Regions from separate parts of the Homo sapiens genome. Here regions 1, 3 and 4 are each linked to region 2. The links are contacts of gene promoters, found by promoter capture Hi-C in blood cells and fetal thymus (Javierre and others, 2016). All regions are on one chromosome and are shown on one strand. Each heading gives the region's core, a stretch centred on a gene start or on the middle of the fragment in contact. The rest is flanking DNA. Distances are from core to core; before and after follow the strand shown. Region 1 has its middle 10 kb from the start of TERF2. Region 2 holds the start of COG4 (component of oligomeric golgi complex 4). Region 3 overlaps AP1G1 (adaptor related protein complex 1 subunit gamma 1). Region 4 holds the start of ZNF821 (zinc finger protein 821).

Evidence for each region. Contacts are between HindIII fragments. The CHiCAGO score rates a contact against its expected background, and 5 or more counts as called.
Region 1: a contact is called between a fragment that was not itself captured here and the fragment with the promoter of COG4 in region 2, in 1 of 17 cell types (fetal thymus). The highest score is 5.5, in fetal thymus.
Region 3: a fragment that was not itself captured here is called in contact with the fragment with the promoter of COG4 in region 2 in 1 of 17 cell types (M2 macrophages); the score reaches 5.7 in M2 macrophages.
Region 4: a contact is called between the fragment with the promoter of ZNF821 here and the fragment with the promoter of COG4 in region 2, in 3 of 17 cell types (M2 macrophages, M1 macrophages and M0 macrophages). The highest score is 12.1, in M2 macrophages.

What each region holds. Positions count from the first base shown.
Region 1 is chr16:69,394,867-69,398,117 of GRCh38, forward strand. No RefSeq gene overlaps it. Among named protein-coding and RNA genes, the nearest start is that of TERF2, 10 kb to the left of the region's middle. The HindIII fragment of the contact is 1,086 bases long and covers 1,265-2,350 here.
Region 2 is chr16:70,521,671-70,524,857 of GRCh38, forward strand. It overlaps COG4 (component of oligomeric golgi complex 4), which reads right to left and starts at 1,884. Exons shown (of 19, transcript NM_015386.3): 1 at 1,703-1,884. The coding sequence starts at 1,873. SF3B3 (splicing factor 3b subunit 3) reads left to right here and starts at 2,146. Exons shown (of 26, transcript NM_012426.5): 1 at 2,146-2,258. RefSeq lists enhancers at 1,517-1,656, 2,690-3,187. The HindIII fragment of the contact is 1,828 bases long and covers 968-2,795 here.
Region 3 is chr16:71,784,814-71,788,075 of GRCh38, forward strand. The region is part of intron 2 of AP1G1 (adaptor related protein complex 1 subunit gamma 1); the gene reads right to left. Among named protein-coding and RNA genes, the nearest start is that of AP1G1, 22 kb to the right of the region's middle. The HindIII fragment of the contact is 2,663 bases long and covers 288-2,950 here.
Region 4 is chr16:71,882,307-71,885,610 of GRCh38, forward strand. It overlaps ZNF821 (zinc finger protein 821), which reads right to left and starts at 1,876. Exons shown (of 8, transcript NM_001201552.2): 1 at 1,602-1,876; 2 at 905-967. RefSeq lists enhancers at 702-901, 2,742-3,242 and silencers at 1,262-1,381, 1,402-2,161. The HindIII fragment of the contact is 5,845 bases long and covers 1,205-3,304 here.

The DNA of each region.
Region 1 (3,251 bases), core at 558-3,057, 1.1 Mb before region 2:
GAGCTATTTTAAATTAAACTCTCTGGGAGATTCTGGTTTTGATGCCCTGTCAAGTAGGGAAATGATCAAATTATTATATTCCTCATCAAAAGTAACAATTTGGCAGTATCTATCAAAACTTAAAATTCACATGTATTTTGAACCTATGGTTTCTCCCAGCTCCATCCTATGCCAACAATGTAGGCACAAAGATATTCAGGGCAGCAATTTTTTTCTTTTGCTTAGATTTGAGATCCCAACAATGCAGCATTTTTGAAATGGACAAATATTAGAGAGTTGGCAAATGTCTATTCATTCATTAGACACATTCTGTTGACATATTCCCACTATCAGGAACAGCAAAAACAAAGTACCTATAATAAAGTCCCTATTCTTACCGAGATGTACTTTTTAATCCATCAAAAGAGGACTGAATAAATAATTTATGATACATTCAAGCAATGGAATATTATGCCTCCATCAGAAGGAATGAGGTTTGTCACTACATACAGCTTTGAAAAGATGTAAAAGACAATTTTTTAAACTTAGGAATCTTTTGAATGTATTACCTCTTCCAAATGAAGAAAATAAAAAAGAGAAAAGCAAGTTTCGGCTAGGTGCAGTGGCTCGTGCCTGCAATCCCACCACTTTGGGAGGTCGAGGCAGGCAGATCACTTGAGGCCAGGAGTTCGAGACCAGCCTGGCTAACATGGTGAAACCTTGTCTCTACTAAAATTACAGAAATTAGCTAGGTGTGGTGGCACACGCCTGTAATTCCAGCTACTCAGGAGGCTGAGGCAGGAGAATCACTTGAACCCAGGAGAAGGTTGCAGTGAGCAGAGATTGCACCACTGCACTCCAGCCTGGGCGACAGAGCGAGACTTTGTCTCAAAAAAAAAGAAAAAAGAAAGAAAAGCAAGTTTCAAAACAGGGTATCAGTATTATCCTACTTGTGGATAAAAATTATATACATATGGATATATATATATATAGATACATTCATAGAAAAAATTGTGAAAGAATGTTAAAAAATTGCTAGCAATAGAACTAGAAAATGGAACTAGGAAGGGAAGATTTTTCTTTTCTCTTTATACTCTTTCATGCTGGTTCAAAATTTTATTTTATTTTATTTTTATGTATTTTTTGTAGAGAGGGGGTCTTGCTATATTGCCCTGACTGGTCTCAAACTCCTGGCCTCAATGGATCCTCCCACCTCAGCCTCCCAAACTGTTGGGATTACAGGCATGAGCCACTACACCTGGCCTAAAAATTTTGACCAAAGGAAAGCTTACTTTTCCAATTTTTTAAACCATTACAAAAATTCCATATAATCTTGAGAGACCATGAAATCTTAAACTTCCAGCAGGGGGCAGCAACGATTCTCAAATATCTCTGACGTCAGCACAAAGCTGAGGATTAGCGTCCCCAGGTTTCCATTTCCAGGCCCAAATACTGTCCTTGCATCACCAGATCATAAAGGAAACAAAACGCAATAACCACAGAAGGCTTAAAATGCCGCAGGAATTGTTGTGTAACAAAACATTTCTGTATGGCTCTTTGTTAACACATCTGCGAGTTAAACTGCCTTTTCTCTCTCTGGAGCTCACAGTTTTCTCATCCATTAAATTGAGGGGGTTTGATGAGATCATGTTAAAAGTTCTCTTTCCATTTCTGTAATGCTAAGCCTTTATGACTTAAAACCCAGTATCAGGAAGAAACAAGCCCCAGTGCCCTCTGAAATTAACTGGCTTATCAAAGAATCTGCTTTAAAACCCTCAGCTGGTCAGTGAATTACTGCCAGTTTATCTTTAGTGTAGATCAAAGAATACTTTTTTTCAGGGGGGAGGATGTTGGTATTTACTTAACTCACTGATGGAGAAAAAGAACGCTCCCACTCTATAAATGTTTAGCATGTGTGTAAAGGTCGTAGGTCTGGTGTTCAGAAATTACATACAGGCTTACGAAAGAATCTGCACTGGGTTGGCCAAATTAAACAACAGGCAGTTGTAGAGAAATAAACACAAGTTAACATTTAACCACAACAAGTCTCTGTTCTTGCTGCTCAGTCTTTCTCACTAGGAGGAGCCTTGAGAAGGTCAGAGAGCTCTGGCTATTCTAGCGAGAGGGCTCTTCTGAGAATGCACTAATCTATTACTTTTATAATATATATATATCGGCCGGGCGTGGTGGCTCATGCATGTAATCCCAGTACTTTGGGATTCCTCATCTGTAAGATGGGGATACCAAAGACCTCTAAGACTGTTAATTGCTGTGAGGGTTAAATGATATAATACATTATCAAATTGCTTAGCATGGGACCTGGCAACTGGAAAGACTTGTTAAAATATGAGTTAATAATATTGTTTAATAAAGCTTAAGCAATATAAGAATCATACATACAGCCACATTTCTGGGGTGTAGACACCCCTTCTCAAATTATTCAGAATCTCCCAGCACCAAAAGATTCATTTCCTATATTTTTATAAGAAATGTATTCTTCCCCTGACATAGTTGTCTTTTTTTTTTTTTTTTGAGACGGAGTCTCGCTCTGTCACCCAGGCTGGAGTGCAGGCGTGATCTCGGCTCAATGCAAGCTCTGCCTCCCAGGTTCACGTCATTCTCCTGCCTCAGCCTCCTGAGTAGCTGGGACTACAGGCGTCTGCCACCATGCCTGGCTAATTTTTTGTATTTTTAGTAGAGATGGGGTTTCACCGTGTTAGCCAGGATGGTCTTGATCTCCTGACCTCATGATCCGCCCGACTCAACCTCCCAAAGTGTTGGGATTACAGGTGTGAGCCCCCGCGCCTGGCTGGTTATCTTCTTTGAGACAAGAGCTTGCTCTGCTGCCCAGGCTGGAGTGCAGTGGCTCGGTCATGGCTCACTGCAGACTTGGACTTCCCAGGCTGAAGATATCCTCCCACCTCAGCCTCCCAAGTAGCTGGGACTACAGGTGTGAGCCATCCCACCCAGCCCATAGTTATCTTTTGATCATATTAGAATGTCTTCAGGAAAGAATGATGCAAACAGGCCCCAGCCCCCAAGTCCCAAAAGCTGGGGCAAGGTTCCAGGGAAGGAGAGATGAGATGGAGGCTAGACCTCAGAACAGGCAAATCAAGACAGCCAAGACAGGCAATCAATCATGTGGGGGCATTTGTTAAAAAGTTTCCAGGATCCAGTCTCCAAGATTTTCATTCTGTTCCAAAATGAATTTCAATAGATAGTTTAATATTTTCATAAAACTATAATCACAGGAAGGGTTTCACATGATCTTA
Region 2 (3,187 bases), core at 634-3,133:
GCTTAGGAATGTTAAGTCAAGATACTAAATTTTTTTTTTTTTTTTTTTTGAGACAGAGTCTCACTCTGTCGCCGAGGCTGGAGTGCAGTGGTGCGATCTCGGCTCACTGCAAGCTCCTTCTCCCTGGTTCACGCCATTCTCCTGCCTCAGCCTCCCGAGTAGCTGGGACTACAGGCGCCCGCCACCACGCCCGGCTAATTTTTTGTATTTTTAGTAGAGACGGGGTTTCACTGTGTTAGCCAGGATGGTCTCGATTTCCTGACCTCGTGATCCATCTGCCTCAGCCTCCCAAAGTGCTGGGGTTACAGGAGTGAGCCACCGCGCCAGGCTTTTTTTTTTTTTAAGAGACACAATTTTGCTCTTGTTGCCCAGGCTAGAGTGTAATGGCGCTATCTTGGTTCACTGCAACCTCCGCCTCCCAGGTTCAAGCAATTCTCCTGCCTCAGCCTCCCGAGTAGCTGGGATTACAGGCATGCGTCACCACACCCGGCTAGTTTTGTATTTTTAGTAGTGATGGTTTTCACCATTTTGGTCATGCTGGTCTCGAACTCCTGACTCAGGTGATCCTCCCGTCTTGGCCTCCCAAAGTGCTGGGATGGCAGGCGTGAGCCACCGCGCCCCGCAAGATACTAAATTTTAAAACACATCTTGCTGAGGCCAGACAAAAAAAGCCCCACACACTAAACTAGCCAGGCACGGTGGTGTGCGCCTCTGGTTTCATCCATTCTGATTGCAGCACAACAGCACTCCAGCCTGCGCAACAGAGAGCGGCCCTGTTTCTAAAAATAACAAAACAAAACAAAAAACACCACACACATCTTGCTGAAAAACGTATCAGAAACTGCTAGAGTTAGTGCAAGTTTATACTTGAAAATACTCAAAGATATCAACGATCACCTCTCCCTCAGGCTGAAACTGCCTTTTGTGCTCAACTTTGCTAGAAGTTTGGTCTGGGAAACAGCTGACAAGCTTAGAGCTTAGATCTCTTTTGACTAGCAAGGAACCCAACTGACATTCGAAAGTGAATTGACAGCATCGAGTTGCCACTGAAAATTAAAGGAGGCAGGAAATAGAACGTTATGAACTGAAAGGAATTGGAGAATAGTCCACACCCCTCATTTGATAAAATATCAAGGGTACCAGAGATGAAGTGACTTGTCCAAGATTAGAGAATTGTGTCTGAGTCTTAAAAGCTAAACCTCTACAAAGATGTGCATTTGACCAAAACGCTAAAATCACACCCCCAAATCACTCCCCACAAGAGGAAGTCTTAAAACGCTTCAAGAAGTTAATCTGCAAAGGCTTCCCTCTTAAATAACAGGATGAGAGCGTTTCATAATTTGTAAATTAAGCCAATGCAAAAGGGCGCTTATTATTTTGAGAACCAAGCAATTTGGCAAATACTCTCAGACTAACTTTACTCCCGTGGAGAAACTGGTGATCATGGATCAGGGAAATCAACGGGGGTCTAGGGAGGAGAGGCTGCAGATCGCCCAGGTATCAGGGAAGACAAGCTCGGCGCGTCCGACAGCGTGAAAAGAGTTGACAGGACTACTCATATACCCGACTAGCTTCCGCTTCTTTGTTTTCCCGCTTTTTTGTATCCCCCAGCAAGGAGAGTTTCCCACAGCCCGGATTTCCCGACTGAAGGCTCCCACTCTCCCTAGATCCTCCATGAAAAAGAAGAGGCTCGACCCCGCACCTCCTCGCCGCAGAGCCGTTCGTATACAGCCTCCAGCTCCTGCAGCTCTGTCAGGGAGCGAATGAGCTCAGCGGAGATTTCGGAGCAGCGGCCACCTCCCACCCCCTCAGACGGCTGCTGCACCCCTGACAGCTTCGGAGGCGAATCAAGGTCCGCCATCTTGGTCCCCATTCGGCACTTCCGGTCCCGCGAGGCCCCCTCTTCGTTGGCGCCTATTTGGGGCTGCCCACAGAAGTGCCCAATGAACTCTAATGGTTTTTTTTTTTTAAAGTCTACTTCTAAAAACGTATTAATTTTCTATTCTCCTGGAAAAAGCAAAGCAATAAAGCATGTTTAAATAATTTGTAATGCCGTGTGGAAGCAAGACGGAAGCATTTTTTAAAAATTATATATATTCTTCAGGCGCGGATTGGGTGCCTTTTTCCGCCGCGCGCCACCAGAATGTCCCTGTCTTGAGGTCTAATGGCGGACGCCAGTATGTTGGAGTTGGTGGTGGCTTAAGTTTTGAAGGGAGGTAGCATCCGTTGGATATCCACACCATCCTTCTCGCTGCAGGGTAAAAAAACAGCCTGGAGACTTCCCCGGGCCCGGGGAGGCGGAGACCGGCCATATGGAAGGGGGACCCGAGACTTTGGCGGGGGTCACGGGCAGTCTAGGCCCGAGAGGCTGGGGACCAGGAGGAGGTACCGAGGGATGGTTGAGGCGCCAAAACGGCTTCCTGCAGTTATCTCTCGCTTCCATCCACAGTGTGGGAACATATTCTATCTCAAAATAGGGCTCGTGGAGATTGCTTTTAACTTCTGGGGACTCTGAGACGGGGGAGGTGTGACAAGCAGCGGGAGGCATGGATGTCTCCCTCTGGGTAGAGTAAATGGTACACCGAGGGGAAGATAGAAAGATGGAGCGTGTTAAAAGCGTAAATAACGGAAACAGTCTTTAGAGCCAAGACTCCGGTTTGAATTTGTATTTTGGTAGTTGGGCAACTTGTCTCCTCCTCTGAACCTCTATTTTCTCGTTTGCGTAATGGAGGACAGAGTTTAAATGCGATGATGTTTCCTTGGAGGATGGAGAAGATGCAGTGAGCAATCATACAAGCTTTTTGTAATAATGGTAAACAGACGTGGGGGAAGTTTTTTTTGTTTTGTTTTGTTTTGTTTTTGTGACGGAGTCACAGTCTGTCGCCCAGACTGGAGAGCAGTGGCGCGATCTCGGCTCACTGCCATCTCTGCCTCCCGGGTTCCAGCGATTCTCTTACCTCAGCCTCCCGAGTAGACTAGCTGGGATTACGGGCGCGTGCCACCACGCCCGGCTAATTTTTCTTTTTTTGAGACGGTGTCTCGCTTTGTCGCCCAGGCTGGAGTGCAGTGGCGCGATCTCTGCTCACTGCAAGCTCCGCTTTCCGGGTTCACGCCATTCTCCTGCCTCAGCCTCACGAGTAGCTGGAACTACAGGCGCCCGCCACCGCGCCCAGCTAATTTTTTGTAT
Region 3 (3,262 bases), core at 369-2,868, 1.3 Mb after region 2:
CTCCCAAAGTGCCAGGATTACAGGCGTAAGTCACCGTGTCCATCCTACCCCTTAAGTTTTATTGCAAAACTTAAGACTTTTAAAATATAGCTACTAGAAATTTTTAAATTTCTATGTAGCTTGTGTTTTATTTCTATCAGCACCATACTAGATACTGTAGTAAAAAGTTTTAAAAAGGTGAAATTAGTTTTAATAATATTCTTTAATCAATATATCTAAAATATCATTTCAACGTATGATCAACACAAAAATTATAATTAGGTATTTTACACTTGCTTTTGCACTAAAGCTTCTATATACAGTATGTACTTTACACTTACAGCACATCTCAATTTGTACATTTTCATCAGAAATAGCTAAACTAAAAAGAAAAAAAAAGAAATAGCTGAACTGTATTTAGATTTCATAAAATTTACTATTTATAAAGTAGACTCACATACCCAAGTTGTTTAAAACATATTTAAAAGTCTTCCAATAACTAGGCTGGGTGTGGTGGCTCACACCTGTAATTCCAGCACTTTGGGAGGCCAAGACGGTGGATCATTTGAGGTCAGGAGTTCAAGACTAGTCTGGACAACATGGTGAAACCCTGTCTCTACCAAAAATACAAAAATTAGCCGGGTGTGGTGGCAGGTGCCTGTAGCCCAGCTACTCAGGAGGCTGAGGCAGGAGAATCGCTTGAACCTGGGTAGTGAAGGCTGCAATGAGCCAAGATTGTGCCATTGTACTCCAGCCTGAGTGACAAGAGCGAAACCCTGCCTCAAAAAAAAAAAAAAAAAAAAAAAAGTGGGCTGGGAATGGTGGCTCACGCCTGTAATCCCAGCACTTTGGGAGGCCGAGGCGGGCAGATCACGAGGTCAGATCGAGACCACCCTGGCTAACACAGTGAAATCCCGTCTCTACTAAAAACACAAAAAAATTAGCCAGGCATGGTGGCAGGCGCCTGTAGTCCCAGCTACTAGGGAGGCTGAGGAAGGAGAATGGCGTGAACCCAGGAGGCAGAGTTTGCAGTGAGCTGAGATCACACCATTGCACTCCAGCCTGGGCAACAGGGCGAGACTCCATCTCAAAGAAAAAAAAAAGTGGCTATTATTATACACTAAATGAAAATGGCACTGTGATCATACGTGCAGGTGACAAAATCTAGATATGAACCTTTTAAAGGCATATTATAAAGGTAATTCCAACGGATGGGGTACCAAATTACTGATATGAACAAGATGGTGACTCATTGAAACAGAGGAAACAGAATAAGAACTTAAAATTATGATTCCCAGTCCCATTCAGAAAAATATTTTATGATAAAATTTTAGCACAGTTTTCTCGAGCATTTACTTTCTAAGAATTAAATATTTTATCAAATAATTAAGTCCCAAAATACCCCCAAATGCCACCTAACCTTAAAAGCACATTCTATTTAAACATATTAAAGAAATGAATCTTAGAAAATATAGAGAGATTTTTTACAAAATGAAATATCCCCCAAAGTCTTAAATCTACTCTGATTCCAAATTCAAGAATTTGCCCTTAGTCCAGGGACTGTGGCTTACACCTATAATCACAGCACTTTGGGAGGTTGAGGCCCAAAGATCACTTGAGCCCAGGAGTTCAACACCAACCAGGGAACTGTGGCAGAAATCCAACTCAACAAAAATTTTTTTTTTTTGAGAAAGAGTCTCATTCTGTTGCCAGGCTGGAGTACAGTGGCACGATCTCAGCTCACTGCAACCTGTACCTCCCGGATTCAAACGATTCTCCTGCTTCAGCCTCCTGAGTAGCTGGGACTACAGGCACGCACCACCATGCCCAGCTAATTTTTGTATTTTTAGTAGAGAGGGGGTTCCACCATGTTGGCCAGGATAGCCTCTATCTCTTGACCTCATGATCCACCCACCTCGGCCTCCCAAAGTTCTGGGTGTACAGGCGTGAGCCACCGCACCCAGCCCAAATTTTTTTTTTAATTAGCTGACCGGGCACAATAGTGCACGCCTGTAATCTCAGTACTTTGAGAGGCCAAGACACATGGATTGCTTGAGCTCAAGAGTTCAAAATGAGCCTGAGCAACACAGCAAAGCCCTGTCTCTATAAAAAATACAAAAATTAGCCGGGTGTGGTTCCCAGAAGGTCGAGGCTGCAGTGAGCCCAGTAGAAAGTAAGCCTGAGGTGTCCACTGCACAATCCAGCCTGGGCAACAGAGTGAGATCCCGTCTCAAAAAATTAGCTGGGCCCGGGCACAGTGGCTCACTTCTGTAATCCCAGAACTTTAGGAGGCCGAGACAGACAGATAACGAGGTCAGGAATTCGAGACCAGCCTGGCCAATATGGTAACATTCCGTCTCTACTAAAAATACAAAAATTAGCCGGGTGTGGTGGCACACACCTGTAGTCCCAGCTACTCGGGAGGCTGAGGCAGAAGAATCTTTTGAACCCAGTAGGTGGAGGTTGAAGTGAGCCGAGATCACGCCACTGGACTCCAGCCTGGGCAACACAGCGAGACTCTGTCTCAAAAAAAAAAAAAAAAAAAAAAAAAATTAGCTGGGTGTGGTGCCATGCACCTGCAGTCCCAGTGACTCGAGAGGCTGAGGTAGGAGAACTTGAGCCCAGTAGGTTGAGGTGACAGTGAGCCATCACAGAGCCACAGCATGGGCCATAGAGCAAGACCCTGCCTCTAAAAACAACAAAAAAAGAATATGCTCTTAAAGAACTTCCTTGGGAATATGTAAATGTACTGCTTCCAAAATGTTAATAATGCTTATCGCTGAGGAATTAAGAGTCTTCTCCCTCACTAGACTTTTTTATAGCCCAATTTCTAATATATCAGATTTCTGTAAATCTAACCTAATACTTAAAATCAATCAACCGATCAACAAGAACACGTAGGCATCTATTTGCTTTATACTATGACACACAGTATATGGATAACCACCTGGATCAATTTTTGATGTGGTAAAGCTTATAACTGAAACATCAGAGCCTCAGGGTTTCATTCCACTCCTAACACTCTACGAATGAAATATGAAATATATTTCAAAGAACATATTATATTTTTAGAAACTATTCATGTGAAAGAGAAGAATGCTATTATGACACTAATTCTGTCCCAAACCAAATATATGACTATATTGATGACCCAGCAGTTGCTTCTGCCTGGCTCCTTTTCTTTTGATCCAGTCCCCTTTCCTCTGATACTAACACATCAATTTTTCTTTGGGAAATTAATGGACTCCCACTCTTGATCATGTATTTCTAAAGATGTTGACCC
Region 4 (3,304 bases), core at 626-3,125, 1.4 Mb after region 2:
TAAAATATACTCCTCTAATGTGATAATCTATTGAGGCTAAATATATATATACTCTATTATAGAAGAAAAAACAGAATCTTGACTAATTTTTATATTTTCTCCCTTCAAGATCAGAAACTGAAACTGTAAGATAAAGGTAATAAAGTCCCTTCTGAAGGAAGGCCAAATAATTTGAACCAGACAACATTTCAATATTAAAGCTCCAAGTCAAAAGACAGAGATGAGTGTCTGCGTATTTAAATCAGCAATGCCCGCTGCATCTTATAATCCTCCTAGTGGCCAAATGGGGAACTGACCAGATGGTACCCAATGGGACTTCACACCTGAGTGATCAAGAGAAAAATAAGCAATTACAGTCCCCTCCCACACAACGAAACGAAAATAATAACAAAAACACCCACAAAAACAGGCCTGTGGGGTCATGGGCTGTTGAAAATCAATAAGTAAATAAATAAATGGCGCTGAAAGGACACTCTTGACCACAAAGCAAGATCTCAGAGGCCAGATGACTTGTTTTATAGGCAGTTAAAGCTAATAAAACCCAGAGACATACAGCCCTAAAGGTCACTCATTTTGTTTTACTTTTAACACTGCCTCAATTTCCAAGCCAAAACCTGAAACCAAACCAAACCAAAAATGTAAATAGATAGCTGCCTGAACATGGGCTGGGAAGACAGGTAAACGGTGAGATTCAGGTCTAAAGGGATTCCATTTTAAAAGGAAAGCAGTTCTGTCTGTCTTCAGAGCAAGGTTAAGAGTCCTCGGGAAGGTGCAACGTCTCCCCTGAACACTGTCTCTGCTCTCCCACAGGTATTAGGTTGCAGCGTCTAGGGCACACCACAGACTTTGGCAAGAAAAAAAACGAGTGAAATCTCAGCTTGATGAAAAGAGAGTGCGTTCCCACCTCCAGCTCTGGTGCAGTTCCCACGGAGCAAAGCAAACTCGACTGAATCCAAGTGATCTGTATCTGCCAAAAAGGAGAGGACAAGAAAGCTGGTCACTTAGCCGCCTGGCTGTTCACCTGACCCCTGGGGTTGGGTCTGGGGCGTGTCTAATCAGCCGAGATGGTCCCTCTGCTTCTTCAAGCATGAGCCCAGGTAAATTCCCAGGAATTACCAGACAAGAGCCTGACAAGAGCCGGAGGTCTTCCGAGGCGGCTCAGACAAACCCTTAGACAACACAATCTCCGAAATCTAAATTTAGAAGCTTTTCTGCGAGACCCAGACGCGGGGACTGATACCCCCCGGTCTGCACGCCCACGCCCATCCTCCCCTCCCCCAGCTCCACCCAAGGCTGTCAGACGCCGGGGCCGTCCCCGCCGGGGCCCGAGGAGGCGGGGTGCCCGCGGCCCGCGCAAAAGCCCCCCGGCCCCGCACCCCGCGCCCCGCGCCCGAGAGCGCCAAGGGGCAGCAGGAGGAGCGGCCGGGGAGGAATTGGGGTTGGAAGCGGGGAGGGTGAGCCCGGGCTGCCCCCCTAGGCCGGAGCTGGCCCCCGGCCCTCTCCCCAGTGCAGACAAAAGGACCAACAGCCGGCGGCCGCGAGGGGGCGAGGAGCCCGCATCCCCAGCCCGGACCCGGAGGGAGGGCAGGGGGTCTTTTTACCCGGCGCCTCGGCGCTGCGCTGCGCTCTGGGTCCCTGGGCCCCGCCTCCGGACAGACGGACCGCCGGACAATGGACCCGGGACCGCAGCCCAAGCCAGCCGGGCCGGGGCGCTCCGGGACTGGGCCCCGGCGAGCGGAAGGGGCTCCGGGCCGAGCCGAGCCGGTGGCGGGGAGCCGAGGGGCGGCGCTGCAGACGGACAAAGCCAACAGCAGACAGACAGACGGAGGGGGAAAAAGATGGCGACGCGGGCGGCGGGAGCGCGCGGCTCGCGCACCCGCAGCTAGTGAGGCGCGTGCACGAGCCTCCCTCTCCCCCTCCCCCGCGCCGGCCAGGTCCCCTTCCCCGCGGCCCGGCGCGCGCCTGGCGTTGTGGGCGGGGCCTGAGGAGAGGGGCTCTGGAGAGGAGGGGCTCCGGGGAGCGCCCAATCCCGGGCGCCCGAGAGGGGCTCGCCCGCGTTCCAGGGCTCCGGAACCCCCCGCCTCGCCCATTCCCGGGTCTTTCTCTGGCTGTCTCAGCCGCTCAGCTCCCCCAGACCTTCCTGGACGTGTAAACGCCACCCTACCCAGCCCCGATCCTGGTTTCTTACCCCACCATCGAGTTCAGCCACAAAACCCACAACCCCCAACCACAGCTCCGCCGCAGGCACCCCCTCTCCTTAGCCCGGATCCCCACCACCGTCACAAACCCTCTTCGCCTCATTCCCCCACGCTTCGCGGTGGCTTCGGCTCCCGAGGCTTTGAATGTGACCACGGGCCTTGGTGGGAGGGGCCAAGTTCAGCTGTCAGAACCTCAGAGCTGGGAAATCTTGAGATTTCTTTTGAGTATTTAATTTTCTGACATGATTCTCAACTGATAAAATAACATTGGCTGCAGACCCAGGGGCAGGGGAACTTGTGGCACTGTTGTCACTTGAGGGATGTTTGGGGGCAATGGAGAGCCGTTGGACCTTTTTTTTTTTTTTTTTTTTGAGACAGAGTCTCGCTCTGTCACCCAGGCTGCAATGCAATGGCGCGATCTTCGCTCACTGCAACCTGCGCCTCCCAGGTTCAAGCGATTCTCGTGCTTCAGCCTCCCGAGTAGCTGGGACTACAGGCGTGCACCACCACGCCCAGCTAATTTTTGTATTTTTAGTAGACGGGGTTTCACCATGTTGGCCAGGCTGGTCCCGAACTCCTGACCTCAGGTGATCCTCCCGCCTCGGCCTCTCAAAGTGCTGGGATTACAGGCGTAAGCCACTGTGCCCGGCCTGGTTGGACGCACTTCTAGTCAAACACCTCCTCCTGTCCACGTCCTTCTCTCTCCTAGTTCCTGTTGCCTTCTTTTCTTCCTCTCTTCTAGAATGCCTGAGCCTGCCCTGGCATCGCTTACCTGGAGAAGCAGGGAATGCAGAGGAAAGAAGATGAGATCTGGTATTAGAAGATCTGGCTTTGAGCCCCAGCTCTGCCACCCACCAGCCTGTTGACTTTGGGCAAGTCACTTCCCTGTTCTGAGCCTCTGCTTCCTAAGATGTCAAATGGATAATGATGCAATAATTCCTGGCCTTTACTCTCCGAGGGTTGTTGTGCCAGTTAAGTAAAACAAATGGCTAAAAGCATCATGCAAATGTTTTTCGTGATTACTGGCTGCACAAAGGCAGGGCTAACGAGGATGCTGTCATTTGCTGATAAAGTGACAAGTCCTGGTATTTGCATAGAACATTCTT